Regions from separate parts of the Homo sapiens genome. Here all the other regions are linked to region 1. The links are contacts of gene promoters, found by promoter capture Hi-C in blood cells and fetal thymus (Javierre and others, 2016). All regions are on one chromosome and are shown on one strand. Each heading gives the region's core, a stretch centred on a gene start or on the middle of the fragment in contact. The rest is flanking DNA. Distances are from core to core; before and after follow the strand shown. Region 1 holds the start of RAB26 (RAB26, member RAS oncogene family). Region 2 overlaps FAHD1 (fumarylacetoacetate hydrolase domain containing 1). Region 3 overlaps CCNF (cyclin F). Region 4 has its middle 5.4 kb from the start of ATP6V0C.

Region 1 (3,441 bases), core at 889-3,388:
ATGGCCTCACCTCTTACCACCTGCCCGAGAGCCAAGAGGGAGGTGGGGAAGTGGGGACCAGACAGGACTGGCCTGCCCCCCTCGGGCACTTCAGTCGTCACTCCATCCCAGAGGACTTGAGGGGACTTGGAACCCCCAGACTGGAGGGAGCCCCTTTTCCTGTCCCTGGAACAGCCCTTCCTCCATCCTCCCTCTAACTGGCTCTAATTAAAGGGTGAGAAAAATGCAAATTTAAGATTTGCTGAGGACAAGCCGGCACCTCAGCACGAGGAATTCCAGCTGGTGGGGGTGGGGGTGGGCGCTCCTCACCCAAGAGCAGGGTCCTCTCCCCTAGGCAAGCCCTGGAAACCCTCGCTCAGGCTCTGCAGGGAGCATGTGCTTCTAGGGCCCAGTAAGGCCTCTGTACCGAGGCAGCACTGCTGGCCCCAAGTGGACGTGGCCCTTGACTTCCTCTGACCCACCACCCTGTAGGCAACAGTGTCCGCCTCCCCCAAGGCACAGGATATGGTCCCTCGGTAATGCCAGCCCCTGGCATAGGGCAACTAACTATGCTTGTCGGGTGCAGCCACCAGCCCAGGTGTTGGAAGGTCGAGGCAGGCAGCTTCTGGGGTCCAGGCCTCGAGCCTGTTGGTACCATGGGGATCAGAGAGAACTTGCTGCTCGGGTACCGGCGGGACTCTGATGTGGGGCCAGGCCAGGGCCTCCACTCACCCGGAAGTCAATGCCTACGGTGGAGATGAAGGTCCCCGCCAGGAAAGCACCATCCTTGAATCGCACCAGCAGACAGGTCTTCCCCACACCCGAGTCCCCCACCAGCATGACCTAGGACAAGCAGGAGGGTTGGGGGGAGTCTGGTCTGCCCTGAGCTGGCCTGGTCAGAAGGGGGCTGCAGGTGAGGAGCAGGAGTGGAGGGAGGCAGCCCAGGCCTGCAGGCTCAGCGGGGCCAGGGACCCCGATGGGCTGGACACCCAGCGTATGCCTCTGAAAGGCTGGGGCTGCTCTGTCCTTCTGCACAGTGGCCGTCTCAGTCAGCGGGGAGTGAGGGCAGCCACCTGCATCCCGGACCCTCCCTAACGTCCATACCCCCACACGGTGGACAGCATCTGGGAGGGGAGCAGGTGGGGTGGCAGCTGGGTACCTCCTAAGAGACTTGGGGAGGCCTCTGCCGGGGGCTTCTCCACATCCCAGTAGGGACATGACCCCAGCAAGGCTCGAGGAATTTGCCCCATTAGGATCAGATCTCGATCTGAAGAGGGACCTGGGCCAAGTCTGAGGTTGGGGGGAGGTGCAAGTGGGCAGCAGTCAGGCCTTCTCCCCGAAACCTGTGCTACCAAACCCAAAATGGTCCTCCCAGCCCCCTGCCAAGTCCACACAGCCTCTGCCTTGGTCTGGAGTCCCAGGGTTCCCCATCCATCTGGCAAACCTCTTCCCCCCAGCAAAAAAAAAAAAAAAAAAAAAAGGCCCACAGCCGCTGGGTTGAGGGAGGGCAGCATACGGGAAATGGTGAGACCCCGGGCGGGGGCCAGGGCACTGGGGCGCGGGACCCCTTGTGCCACCATGCCGCCTGGGGGGTGGGGGACAGGCCCTGCCAGCTGTTGGATACCCCAGACCTGGGATGGACAGCTGTGTGTGCACGATGCACCGTGCAAGCCCCACGGGGTTCCTCCCGCGTCGGCTCCGCGCCCTGGGGCCGCGGGCCCTGCACCCCCTGTCCGACCCCCAACCCTTGGCTCAGGCCGGGCGCCACCTGCTGCGCTGGCCTGGGGGGCGGGTGCCTGGCTCACCTTGAAGGCGACGTCGTAGAAGTCGACACCGCCGCCAAGCGAGGGCCGGCCGGGCTGCAAGGGCCCGTTGGGCGGCGCGTCGGGGCCGGAAAGCGCAGTCCCGGAGCGCGCCGGTCGGGCCCCGTTGGCGGTGGGCAGCGTGGAGGCAGCGGGGGTGCTGGCCCCTTTGCTCTTGGGGGTCTTCTTCCTGGACATGGCGGGCGGGCGCTCAGTGTGCTCCCGCTGCAGCCGCCGTGCCCTGGGCCGTCCCGCACCCCGCGCCCGCCGAGCCCGACCCGGACCCGAACCCTTCCCCTGGCGGCGGCGGCGGCGGCGGCGGCGGCGGCGGCATCATCCCGGGCGCCCGGCTCGCGCCCCGCCCCCGCCGCTCCACGGGCGCGCAGCCACTCAGGCCCGGCCTCCCGCCGCCGCCGCCAATGCCGTGCGTGGGGCGGGGACATGCAAATACACCCCCGCTCGGCGGGGGGTGGGGGGCGGTCAGGAGGTCCGGGCCCCGTCCCGCCCCCGATCACGACCCCTGCCCGTGGCTGCCTTGGGGCCAGGAGCCAGCTGTGGGGTGACAGGCCTGGGCCAGGAGTCACCCCGGGATCCTGAATCCCCTCTGCTGGCTGCACACCACCCCAGCTCGGTGACCCCCAAACTGGACCGCCAGACCTGGGAGGAAGGGGTGTCCTGAGATGTGGGTGCTGGGGCAGAGGGCCCGCATGGACGGGCACCGCGGGCTTCTGTCTCCTTAGCCCCAGATGCCTAGCGCTTGGCCCGGTGCCCTTCACTGCTCCATCCCCTCCAGGGTAGGCGGGTCCAGGAAGCTCCAGCCCTGGCTTGGCAAACACACCAGGCTGCTGGGGCAGGCGCCCTGGGCTCAGGTGACAGCTGGTCACCGGGAGGACACAGCGGGCGCTGCGATCTCCCCCACAGCTTCTGCCTGCTGTGCACGCCTGGGGATCTGCGGGAAGGAGGAAGTCGCTGTGGCAGCCAGCCCCCGGCCCCCTGAGGGTCCCCTCCCACGGGACTCTGCCCTCAGGGTCTGAAAGGTGGAAAGCAGAGGCCCCTGCCCAGGCTGTGTGGCTGGCCCCTTGTCCTTCTCCTCCAGGTTCGGACCTTCAGGTGGCCAGGGCCGATTCTCCAAATCCTAAGCTGGTCCCTGGCAGACCCACCTCCCCAACCTGGGCTGCACTGGAGCTCTGTCACCCCCTCTCACAGAGAAGATGGGACTGCAGTGGTCAGAGCTGGGGCACAGTGGTCCAGAGGGGTGGTGTCCTTGGCATGCAGGGGCTTCTTGGTGTTTCTTTGGGAGCTGGAGAGATGACCCAGCTGTCCCCGGAGACCTGACAGCTGTCACCAGGACCTTGGGCCCTTCAGAGACCTGAGCCCTCCCAGCTGGCAGTGCCCAGAGTCCAAACAATTGGCTGCCTCTCGGGTCAGAGGCCTGAGAAAACACAGATGGGGGGCACTGCCCAGCAGAGTGATTCCTCGAGAGGGCCTGGCAGAGGCCGTGGAAGCCTGCCCTACAGCAAGCACTGTTGTGTGCCAGGCACACGACCTCTTCAAAGTTATCCTGCAAGGTGGGTACTGCCCTCAGTGTCCAGATGGGGAAACCGAGGCCCAGAAAGGCAAGGAGCCTGTGCAAGGTCAGCAGGCTAGGAAGGGCAGAGCT
Region 2 (3,103 bases), core at 1-2,500, 320 kb after region 1:
TACTTATATTCACTGACCTGGAAATATGTTCGTGATATATTAAGTGGATGTGTAATACTCATTTTTTTATAAAAGGCCAATCAACATGTTTTAAAAACACAACAGAAGAACAGATGTCAAACCATATATTCTGTACAGACTAATACACTGTGGAATTATTTTCTTAAGCGTGATAATGGTCTCATTTCCATGTAGGAGAATATCCTGATTCTTGGGAGATGTATGCTGAAAGGGAAGAGTCTTTCTGCAGTCACCATCCCGACGCATTTCCAAAATATGGGTGTGTGTGTGTGTGTGTGTGTGTGTGTATAGAGAGAGAGAGGTGCATGTCTGCATATATACACATATATGGCGGGGAGGAAGGGAGAGACGTAGGACCAGAGGACAAACATAGTGAATGCTGGTAATTGTTGAAACTATTAAAGGGCATATGGAGTTCATTGTATTGGTTTTTAAACTTTTTCATAGGTTTAAATGTATTCAAAACGTGGAAAAACGTTATCTTCTGAATGCTAGGATTACTATGATTTTAGCAATATCAGGAATTGTCGGACTTGGTGTCTCTGTTTTTGATTCTTGCATCTAAGGACTTTGTGTGCCTACACCTGCAATGCTGATGTCAATGTTTGTGACAAAGCTTGTTCTACCACTGTGGTGAACACTGACCCCAGGGGCACTGTACTCGGTGCTGGCTTGTGCCACCTACTAGGGCTGCATGTGAGCACTGCTTCTACTTTATAACTTTGACTTTAATAGTCTGTCAACTTGGTAGCTATATCTCAGCTGAACCGTGTACCTGGTAGCAGACTAATAATACACTTCCAGCATGAGCACGCCCTTTGATCCAACTCTTCCACTTATGGGAACCTAGCCAAAGGAAAAAACAGCACATGTGCTGATACTAGCAAATCATTAGAGACAATCTCAAGGTCCAAAAATGGAGGCTTGACTTCAGAATCTTATGCAATCCATGAAAGTTGTACTGCAGAAATGTGTCAGCTAACAAGGAAAAAGATGGTCACAATATACAGTGAAATAAGCAAGTTAAATAATTGTATGGTATAGCTGGGCACGGTGGCTCATGCCTGTAATCCCAGCACTTTGGGACGCCCAGGCGGGTGGATCACTTGAGGTCAGGAGTTCGAGACCAGCTTGACCAACATGGTGAAACCCTGTCTCTACTAAAAATACAAAATTAGCCGGGTGTGGTGGCGTATGCCTGTAATCTGAGCTACTTGGGAGGCTGAGGCAGGAGAATCACTTGAACCTGGGAGGCAGAGGTTGCAGTGAGCCGAGATTGTGCCACTGCACTCCAGCCTGGGCAAAAAGAGTTAAACGCCATCTCAAAAAGAAAAAAGAAAGAAAGAAAAAAAAGAAAATTGTATGGTATGAGCAAACTCTATTTAAAAAATTACAATTATATCCACAGACTTGGAAGAACTTGCAATAAATGCTTAACTTTGGCTGTCTCTGGGTAGATGAAATTTTTGGTGTTTTGTTCTAATTGCTAATCTCTATTTTCTGACTCTTCTGTAATTACATGCATTGCCAAGCAATGAAAAAATAATACTAAAAGTAGTTAAGATAGCATGATACTTAATAAAGAAATCCAATTATGGCACTTCCTCATACTATATTATAATTTAAGCATGGGGTTGCAGCATACCTAAGTGTCTGATTCTTCTTATGTATCTACTTACAAGATGCAGCCTGCATTGTGGTCAAAACTTCACGTTCTGGTCTTGGGGGAGCTGGGTTACATCTCGGCTCTGCCACTAAGCTGAGTGACTTTAGCCAGCCTTCGCAGCCTCTAGATCTGTCTTCATCTGAGTAATGGGGATGGTAGTGATCATACTAAGCTTATGGCTTGGTTGCTGGTTACATAACACGTGGAAATACAGAATAAACTGCTTGGCATGGTGCCTAACAGTACTGTGTTCAATACATGGGGACCGTTACTACTCAATCAGATGTCCTAGGCTTTCTTCAGGGGCCAGCAGATGATGTGAACGCGAACAGGAACCCCTGCCGAAGCCCAAAGGACTCCTCCAGGCATTGACAGCTATGCTGTGCATCTTGCCTGGATGTTTTTTCAGAGGAGGGTGCAGGCAAGAGCAAAAGCAGCAGTCCCAGGCTATTCAACTTCCACAAAGCCTCCTTATCTCCGGTTGGGAAGTACAGTTGCTGATTAACTGTGTTAACACAGCACAGTGCTCAGAAGGCCAAAGGTCAAAGACTAAGGTCTGAAGCCCCACAAGGAGGAAATATCCCTCCTCGTCATTACTGGGGGGAAAAAAATTACCCTTGTAAGCCACTTAGAAGGGAGCACCTTTATTTGGAAAACAGTAATTTCAAAATCATCTCCCGAACTCAGAATCGATGGGTCTGGGTAGATACCCTAAGTAAACAGGTGAAATCTTCATTACTTGTTCACTTATTAAGTAAAATTTTAAATTAACCGATTATGTACAGGAGTGTTTTTCACATTTCCTGATAAGAATCACTTGGAATGCCCTGTAAACACAGCTTCACTGGAGATTAATCCTATCAAATTGATTCAGCAAGTCCGAGATGGGCCAGTAATTTGTGGAGATTTTTATTTTTACAAATGCTTCCTGATGATGACCAAATCTAAGAAAATTTGGTAAACAACGGAAAGTTATCTGGAACATAACTTTCAGTTTTCTCTGCAGTTTTTAAGTGCTGAACTACTGATCATCCTAGAGATAACCCACTGAAAAGTCTTCTCTAATCCAGTTTTACAAAAGGAAAGTCTTTTTAACATTTGGTTTGATAAAATGTTTTCCGAAGAAATACTTTACTTGCCTGTTTTCATTTCTGGCCCACCCGTTCTACTTCACGTTTTCTTGAAGGGTTCATCTTCTATGAGTTGAGGCATAGCAATCTAATCATTTTTAAAATAAATGGTTTCTTTTTTTTTTTTTTTTTTTGAGACGGAGTCTCGCTGTTGCCCAGGAGTACAGTGGCGCAATCTCAGCTCACTGTAAGCTCCGCCTCCCGGGTTCAATTGATTCTCCTGCCTCAGCCTCCAGAGTAGCTGGGACTACAGGCGCCCGCCACCACGCCCGGCTAATTTTTTGTA
Region 3 (3,304 bases), core at 12-2,511, 310 kb before region 1:
GCCGCCAGGGAGGTGACTGCGGGCGACGCCGGGATTTTGGTTTGGGTAACTGGGTAGATGGGGGCGCCATTATCGCGCTTCTCTTGCAGGGGGCCGGTGAAGGTTATACGAGAGGCTCCATCTGTCCTTATTGAAAGTGCTCTTAACGCAGGGACCAGCCGTCTTGCTGACGCCTGGGCCACCGAGCACAGGGACAGGACGGGGTTGCTGGAGGTGAGGATTCCGCGTGTCAGGGGCGGGGATGAAGGAGGAGAAAGTGTTCACTTTTGGACATGTGACGTGATAGCACTGGGCAGAGGGGAGGAAGCTCAGACCTTGGAGCAGTGGGCCAGGCGAGGTGGCCCCTGGTGGGGCAGGGGACGGGTAGGGACAGATCACGGGGCCCACGCAATGGCCAGGGAGGTGGAGGAGCAGTAGGACAGTGTCACAGAGGCAACAGGAGGCTGTCACGGGAGGGAGTGGGTCACAGGCCAAGTGCTGCTGAGGCCTCGGCGGTGTACACAGCACAGCAGGGGGGCGGGGGTACAGGGCCTTCGGTGATGCGGGGGACACCTGAGGGAGGAAGTGAGGAAGGCAGCAGGGCCCCATGTAGTTGGTGTTAACAAGAATAAACAATTAGGGGGCAAGAAATCCCAGGCGGTAGCTGAAAGAAAAACAGAGCCTGGGGTTGCTGTTTAAAGATGGGACAGGTGAGTCCATTCCATAGTCGTTAATGGGAAGGTGCCATCGCAGAGGGGAAGGAGGGCACAAAGGGAGTTGTCAGGGAGGTTGGGACCCAGGCAGCTCTGGCCCAGCGCTCCGGGTGGGCCCCTCCATCAGCGGTGGGGGAGGGTGACGGTGGCCCTGCCTCCCTGGAGATTCTCTGTGAAGGAGGAGGCAGGGAAATGCTCAGTCAGCAGGTGGGTGATGCAGGAACCCACCCACCACAGGCAGGCGGGGCCAGGTCCCCCTGGAGTGGTTTCCTCCTTCAGGTGCAAGCTGGGAGAAAGCAGAGAACTGACTCCATGCAGAGTTGGGATTAAGAGCCCCTGGACAAGGGGCCGAGGCAGTGAAGGACGTCCATCACTCATCTGCCACTATCCTCCTCACATTTAATCCTCACAACACCCCTGTGAGGTAGGTATCATTGCCCCCCTTACAGATGAGGAAACTGAGGCTCACACATGCCCAGGGGCACACAGTCGACAGGACGGGTCTACAGTTCCAACGCTTGGGTTCTCACCCCGACCACACCCCACCCAGGGTGGCCAGAATTCCCTTATAGTAGCAAAAAGACAGCTGCCGCGGACATGAACACACATAGCACCAGCACACATAAAAGCAGCAGCTCAGTGAGCATCTCCCATCCCTGGGTTTCCGGTTCAAGAGCATTTGGGGGCCAGGCGCCGTGGCTCATGCCTGTAATCCCAGCACTTTGGGAGACCGAAGTGGGCGGATCACTTGAGGTCATGAGTTCGAGACTAGCCTGGCCAACATGGTGAAATCCCGTCTCTACCGAAAATACAAAAATTAGCTGGGCGTGGTTGGGTGCTTGTAATCCCAGCTACCCAGGAGGCTGAGGCAGGAGTATCCGGGAGGCGGAGGTTACAGTGAGTTGAGAGTTGAGATCATGCCACTGCACTCCAGCCGGGGAGACAAGAGCAAAACTGTCTCCAAAAAAAAAAAAAAAAAAGCATCTGGGGGACACTTCTGGCCAAGTGGTTCTTTCTTACATTTGCAGAGTAAACAGAAGTGGATGGCAGCAGGGTGTGTTGTGGTCAGCCCGTTCCCAGGGAGAGGCCATGGTCACATGGCCCCAGGCAGGCTCCCCAGGCGTGGGCTGCTGGCTCCCAGGCTCCCTTTCCATGCAGGAGCAGAGTCTCCGTGGCCAGCAGGAAAGCCCAGGGGTCTGCCTCCCTCCCACGGGCCCCCACAGCAGAGCTGCAGTTGGGATCAGCCAGGACACGGCCCCCGACTGCTCTGCTCTTCTGCCTCTTGGTCACCTCAGATGTTACAGAGGACTTGAAGTTTTTTCTGGCTAGCCTATCTGGGAAAATTCTTTTTGCATAAAGTGTGTCAGGATGGCATTGAGGGGCTGGAGTAAGATTTTTGTTTTGCAGGTGAACCTAAATAATGGTGGGAATCTCTTGTTTTTTTAATACCTTCTGTTTTAAGTTTTTCTTTTGTTTTCATCTTGGAAGAAGGAAATTTAGAAATAAGACAGGAAAAGAATGGCCCAGAAATTCAGCACAAAGAGAGGTGTTCACATTGACGCCATCTGTGGGTCACATACGAACGCCTCTGGGACAGAGCTCTAAAACGAGTCACGTGTCGTAGGGAGTGGGCCTGTGGCCAAGGCAGTCCTCGCAGTGTGCAGGGACGCAGGCCCCCTTACCATGGAAGCCCCACCCAGAAGGAAGTGGGTGCCCCATGCAGGCCGAGGTGGATGAGGGGACAGTGGTGTGCTCACAGCTGTCAGCTCCCCACTGAAGCCCCAAACCAGCAGATGTGGGCAGGGGCTCAAGTGGTGTCTGACTACCCAGGTCACACGTGCCTTAAGCGTGAAAGCTGTCAGCTCCCGGCACGGGGCTCTGGTGGGGCTGGGAACACCAGGACACACATGGGCTGAAGCTTCCAGAGACAGTGAGACACGGAAGGGACAGAGAGGTGCCCTCCACACAGTGTGGCCAACTGCTTCCAGGCTAAACTTTCCAAAGAGAGGGATCTGAGCTCTTCACCCTCATTTCAACATTCTGATGGCTTGCACGGGACTCCCGCGGAGACAGAAACTTGGTGGCCGCAAGTCATCCTCTCTGCTCTCTGCGCAAAGGCCTCCATGGTCTATGCAGCGTTCCTATGCTATGCTCCCACCCTTCGCCTCCAGCCCCCTCAGTACACATCCACTGCGGCAAATGTGCTGACACACTTACAGCCTCACAAGGCCCAGGTTCATGTCCTCCTCCTCACTGTGTATGCATAGGTTTATCCGCTTCACCTGTTGCTGGGGAACACTGCTCTCCGGGGGACTTGGGGGACGACACTGTAAACATGACTTCCTGGCCTGATGGTGGCAGGGCTGTGTGTGCGAGTCACTGTCCAGGGACAGCACTGAGGTAGGTTGGGGCAGGGCCCCCAAGCCACCGTCCACGGAGCTTGTGGGACTTGCGGTGCTGACGGAGGAGTACCCTGAGGTCGTGACGTCCTTCCCTGGCTCCCGGCTGGTGCGGACCAGGGGTTTGGGTCCAGGGGTTGCAGGGATCTGGGTGTCCAGCGCCAGTGCCTGTGGGTCCTGGGGTCCCTTGTCCTCTGGACAAGCCTCCTCATC
Region 4 (3,035 bases), core at 535-3,034, 360 kb before region 1:
TGGGGGAGGGGCTTTGAGAAACTCAGGTCAGAGACCCCAACAGAAGCCGTAGAGAAATGTAGGGTGGGCTTCTGCAGGAGGGACCAGCAGCATTTTGCAGAGACCCCGGCAAGGGTAGGGGAGGATGGGGATAAAGAGACAAGGAATAAAGTCCCAAGAGTGACTGGGGAGATCAACTTCTCCGGAAGAAGCCATCACAAAGGGCTGGGGGGCAGCCTCATCTGCAGATGACAGTGTCCCTGCAGGCACCTGCTCCTGGAGACAGCTATCCTTCTGAGTTGCCCTGAGGACACACCCAGAGGGGCACAATGCTGGGAGATGGCACTGGGCACTCTTGACCTGCTTCCAGGAGAGCCATGTGTGGCCCCAGCAGGGCCGGAGGAAATGGGCCAAGAACACAGGTGTACCATCAGGGGTATGACCAAAGGTGCTTTATTTTCTTATCATTAAAAGTTAAGGCTTAAACAATGATACAGTGAAGTTTTTTGTTTTTTGTTTTTTGTTTTTGAGATGGAGTCTCACTCTGTCACCCAGGCTGGATTGCAGTGGCGCAATCTCAGCTCACCGCAAGCTCTGCCTCCCATGTTTAAATAAAATAAAATGCCAGAGGTAAAGACAACGTGGTGCAAGTAGGACTCGGCACCGTACAAGCTGCTTGGTGCAAGGAGGCTCCCCAAAGTCGAGGGCGGCAGGGGAGGTGGAGCCCTGAGCTGCTCCCGCTGGACAGCAGGCACTGAGGGGGCAAGAGGTTGGAGGCAGACGACTGCAATGACCCCAAGGACAGGGCAGCTCCCCCTTCTCGCTCACCCCAAGCTTTCAGGGTTGATGGAAAAGGGCCTGAGTGGGCCCTCCTCTTTGAGGACCCAGTGGGGTGGGCAGGGAGTCCAGCCGGCCCTGACCACTAGGCAGCAGTGTTCGGCGTTTCTTCTGCAGGCAGGTGGGCAGGTGGAGGACCCCATTGGCTCACAGGTGCTATAGTAGCCATTGGGTTTTTTTGGACACAAACTTCCAAATGACCAGGGCCGGGGGCTGCACCTGCACCACGACCAGGTTTTTCAGAACGGGTGTCAGATAAACGCTCAGCCCTAGGCAGCCTGGACCCCATGTCTGGTTTCAGGGTGCACCCTGAAGGCCAACACGGCCTCCTCACACTCCACCCAGGGGGTCAGGGCTCACCGCCGCAGCCCTTGCCCGCCTCAGACCCTGATCCATTCATTCAGTTCCCTGAGCACCTACTATTGTGCCAGGTGCTGAGTGAGGCCCCTGCCAGACAAAGACAAGTTAGAGTCCCTACCCTCAAGACCTGGCAGCCTACCAGGGAGCAGTAGCGTCCCCAACGGTACAGCCAATGCCGCACCAGAAGTGTGGTTCCTAGAAGCAGGGGGGACAAGGGAAGGAGGTGCTGGGACTAGCTCGGTGGGTCGCAGAAGAGGTGATCTCTGAATTAGGACTTGAAAGATGAAGAGAGGGCATAGAGCAGGGGAGAAACATGATCCAGTCTGTATTTAAGTAAGTCACAGACTGGTCGGGCACATGGCTCACACCTGTAATCCCAGCACTTTGTGAGGCCAAAGTGGGCGGATCACCTATGGTCAGGAGTTGGAGACCAGCCTGGCCGACATGGTGAAATCCCGTCTGTACTAAAAATGCAAAAATTAGCCGGGTGTGGTGGCGGGTGCCTGTAATCCCAGCTACTAGGGAGGCTGAGGCAGGATAATCGCTTGAACCCGGGACGGGGAGGTTGCAGTGAGCAGAGATCATGCCACTGCACTCCAGCCTGGGTGACAGAGCAAGACTCCATCTCAAAAAAACAAAAACATGAAAATGAAACCCAAAGTCATAAGATAGAGAGGCATGGGGAGCAGCTGCTTGCTGGGGCCAGGTTTTCCTTTAGGAGTGGGGAAATGCCATGGAACTGGAGGTGGTGGTTCCACAACATGCTCATTCATGCAACCACCACCTCTGTCTGGGGTCGTTCAAATGGTTGGATAGTATGTCAATTTCACTTCAATTTTTTTAAAAGAAAAATGAAACAGTTTCATGGCAGGCTAGAGGGAAGACTGTGCCCTGGACACCTGCCACAGACTAGGCCCGGAAAGCAGCCTGAGGGAAGGCTGCTGGTAGAGGCGGCAGGAAGGGAGGGGGCGGCACTGCCTGGCCAAGCTCTGGGCAGACACCAGCCCCACAGTGAGCTGGCCTGCAGGAGGAAGCAGCCCTGCGCCCCACCTCCCAGGCCAGAGCGCTCTGCACGCCCCGCTCAGGGACAATCTTGCCCAATTCTGGCCTGAGTGTGTGTCCTAATGTCAAGCACAAGACAGTCCGAGCACTTACAGTAAGTGCAAGAGTTACTGCAGGGAGCGTGGCGGGTGTGGGAAGGGGGTGTCCCGCCACCACAGGCCCCAGGAGCACACCTGGAGAATCTCTGATCACCCTGGACGCACAGCAGCAGCGCACACCAACCCACAGGGGCTTCAGTTCATTCTGCAGTGCTAGGCACTCCTGCCCCTTGAGACTGACAGTCTTTAGGACAGGGGGTGGGGAGACCAGCCAACACCTGTCTCAGGTGCTGTGAAGCTAGAACGCGGACCCGGCCTCAGCGGGGAGCTCAGGGAAATCCTGGGAGGGACACTAGGGCCCAGGCATGAGGAGTGGCAAATAGCACGCGCAAAGGCCGGGAAACAGAGGCTTTCAGTTCAGAGGAACTGAAAGAAACCTGGTGCCAGAGAGCCTGTGGCTGTGTTGGGGGCCAAGCTTCCTGCCAGGCTAGCAGACCAGGAGGCCTCTCAGACCCGGGACAGGTGCTGCCCCAACAGTCCCCTGAAGGTACTGAAGGAAGGTGTTCAGAGGAGCAAAGAAAGAGGGCTTGGCAGGAAGGGGCCACCCCCGTGGCCAGTCTGGGGAAGAGGAACCCAGGAGCATAGAGTGGGCAGAGGCAGCTCACGTGACGGCAGGCAGAGGCTCCACAGCAGCTGCAGGGAGGGCCCCCAGCAGCCTCGGTCTCACTGGAGGAACTGGACAGGGAGGGGGCATCTGTG

The links. The method cuts DNA at HindIII sites, captures the fragments that hold promoters and counts their contacts. A CHiCAGO score of 5 or more calls a contact.
Region 2: a fragment that was not itself captured here is called in contact with the fragment with the promoter of RAB26 in region 1 in 2 of 17 cell types (erythroblasts and M0 macrophages); the score reaches 7.8 in erythroblasts.
Region 3: a contact is called between a fragment that was not itself captured here and the fragment with the promoter of RAB26 in region 1, in 5 of 17 cell types (fetal thymus, naive CD4 T cells, total CD8 T cells and 2 more). The highest score is 11.6, in fetal thymus.
Region 4: a fragment that was not itself captured here is called in contact with the fragment with the promoter of RAB26 in region 1 in 3 of 17 cell types (erythroblasts, M0 macrophages and fetal thymus); the score reaches 6.4 in erythroblasts.

Annotation. Positions count from the first base shown.
Region 1 is chr16:2,147,322-2,150,762 of GRCh38, reverse strand. It overlaps RAB26 (RAB26, member RAS oncogene family), which reads right to left and starts at 2,138. Exons shown (of 9, transcript NM_014353.5): 1 at 1,785-2,138; 2 at 712-822. The coding sequence starts at 1,979. RefSeq lists enhancers at 380-931, 932-1,483, 1,484-2,035, 2,036-2,585, 2,586-3,137 and 1 more and silencers at 1,578-1,647, 1,668-1,797, 1,808-1,977, 2,068-2,157, 2,168-2,437 and 1 more. The HindIII fragment of the contact is 14,976 bases long and covers 1-3,441 here.
Region 2 is chr16:1,828,123-1,831,225 of GRCh38, reverse strand. FAHD1 (fumarylacetoacetate hydrolase domain containing 1) reads right to left here. Exons shown (of 1, transcript NM_031208.4): 1 at 2,316-3,103. Among named protein-coding and RNA genes, the nearest start is that of FAHD1, 2.5 kb to the right of the region's middle. The HindIII fragment of the contact is 1,222 bases long and covers 640-1,861 here.
Region 3 is chr16:2,456,622-2,459,925 of GRCh38, reverse strand. CCNF (cyclin F) reads right to left here. Exons shown (of 17, transcript NM_001761.3): 17 at 1,072-3,304. The coding sequence ends at 2,906. It overlaps LOC105371050 (a long non-coding RNA gene), which reads left to right. Exons shown (of 5, transcript NR_188689.1): 1 at 1-12; 2 at 90-213; 3 at 972-1,116; 4 at 2,960-3,092. Among named protein-coding and RNA genes, the nearest start is that of TEDC2, 1.8 kb to the left of the region's middle. RefSeq lists enhancers at 209-298, 529-1,343. The HindIII fragment of the contact is 2,703 bases long and covers 1-2,612 here.
Region 4 is chr16:2,507,051-2,510,085 of GRCh38, reverse strand. No RefSeq gene overlaps it. Among named protein-coding and RNA genes, the nearest start is that of ATP6V0C, 5.4 kb to the left of the region's middle. RefSeq lists enhancers at 10-79, 140-249, 1,896-2,396, 2,397-2,897. The HindIII fragment of the contact is 1,938 bases long and covers 816-2,753 here.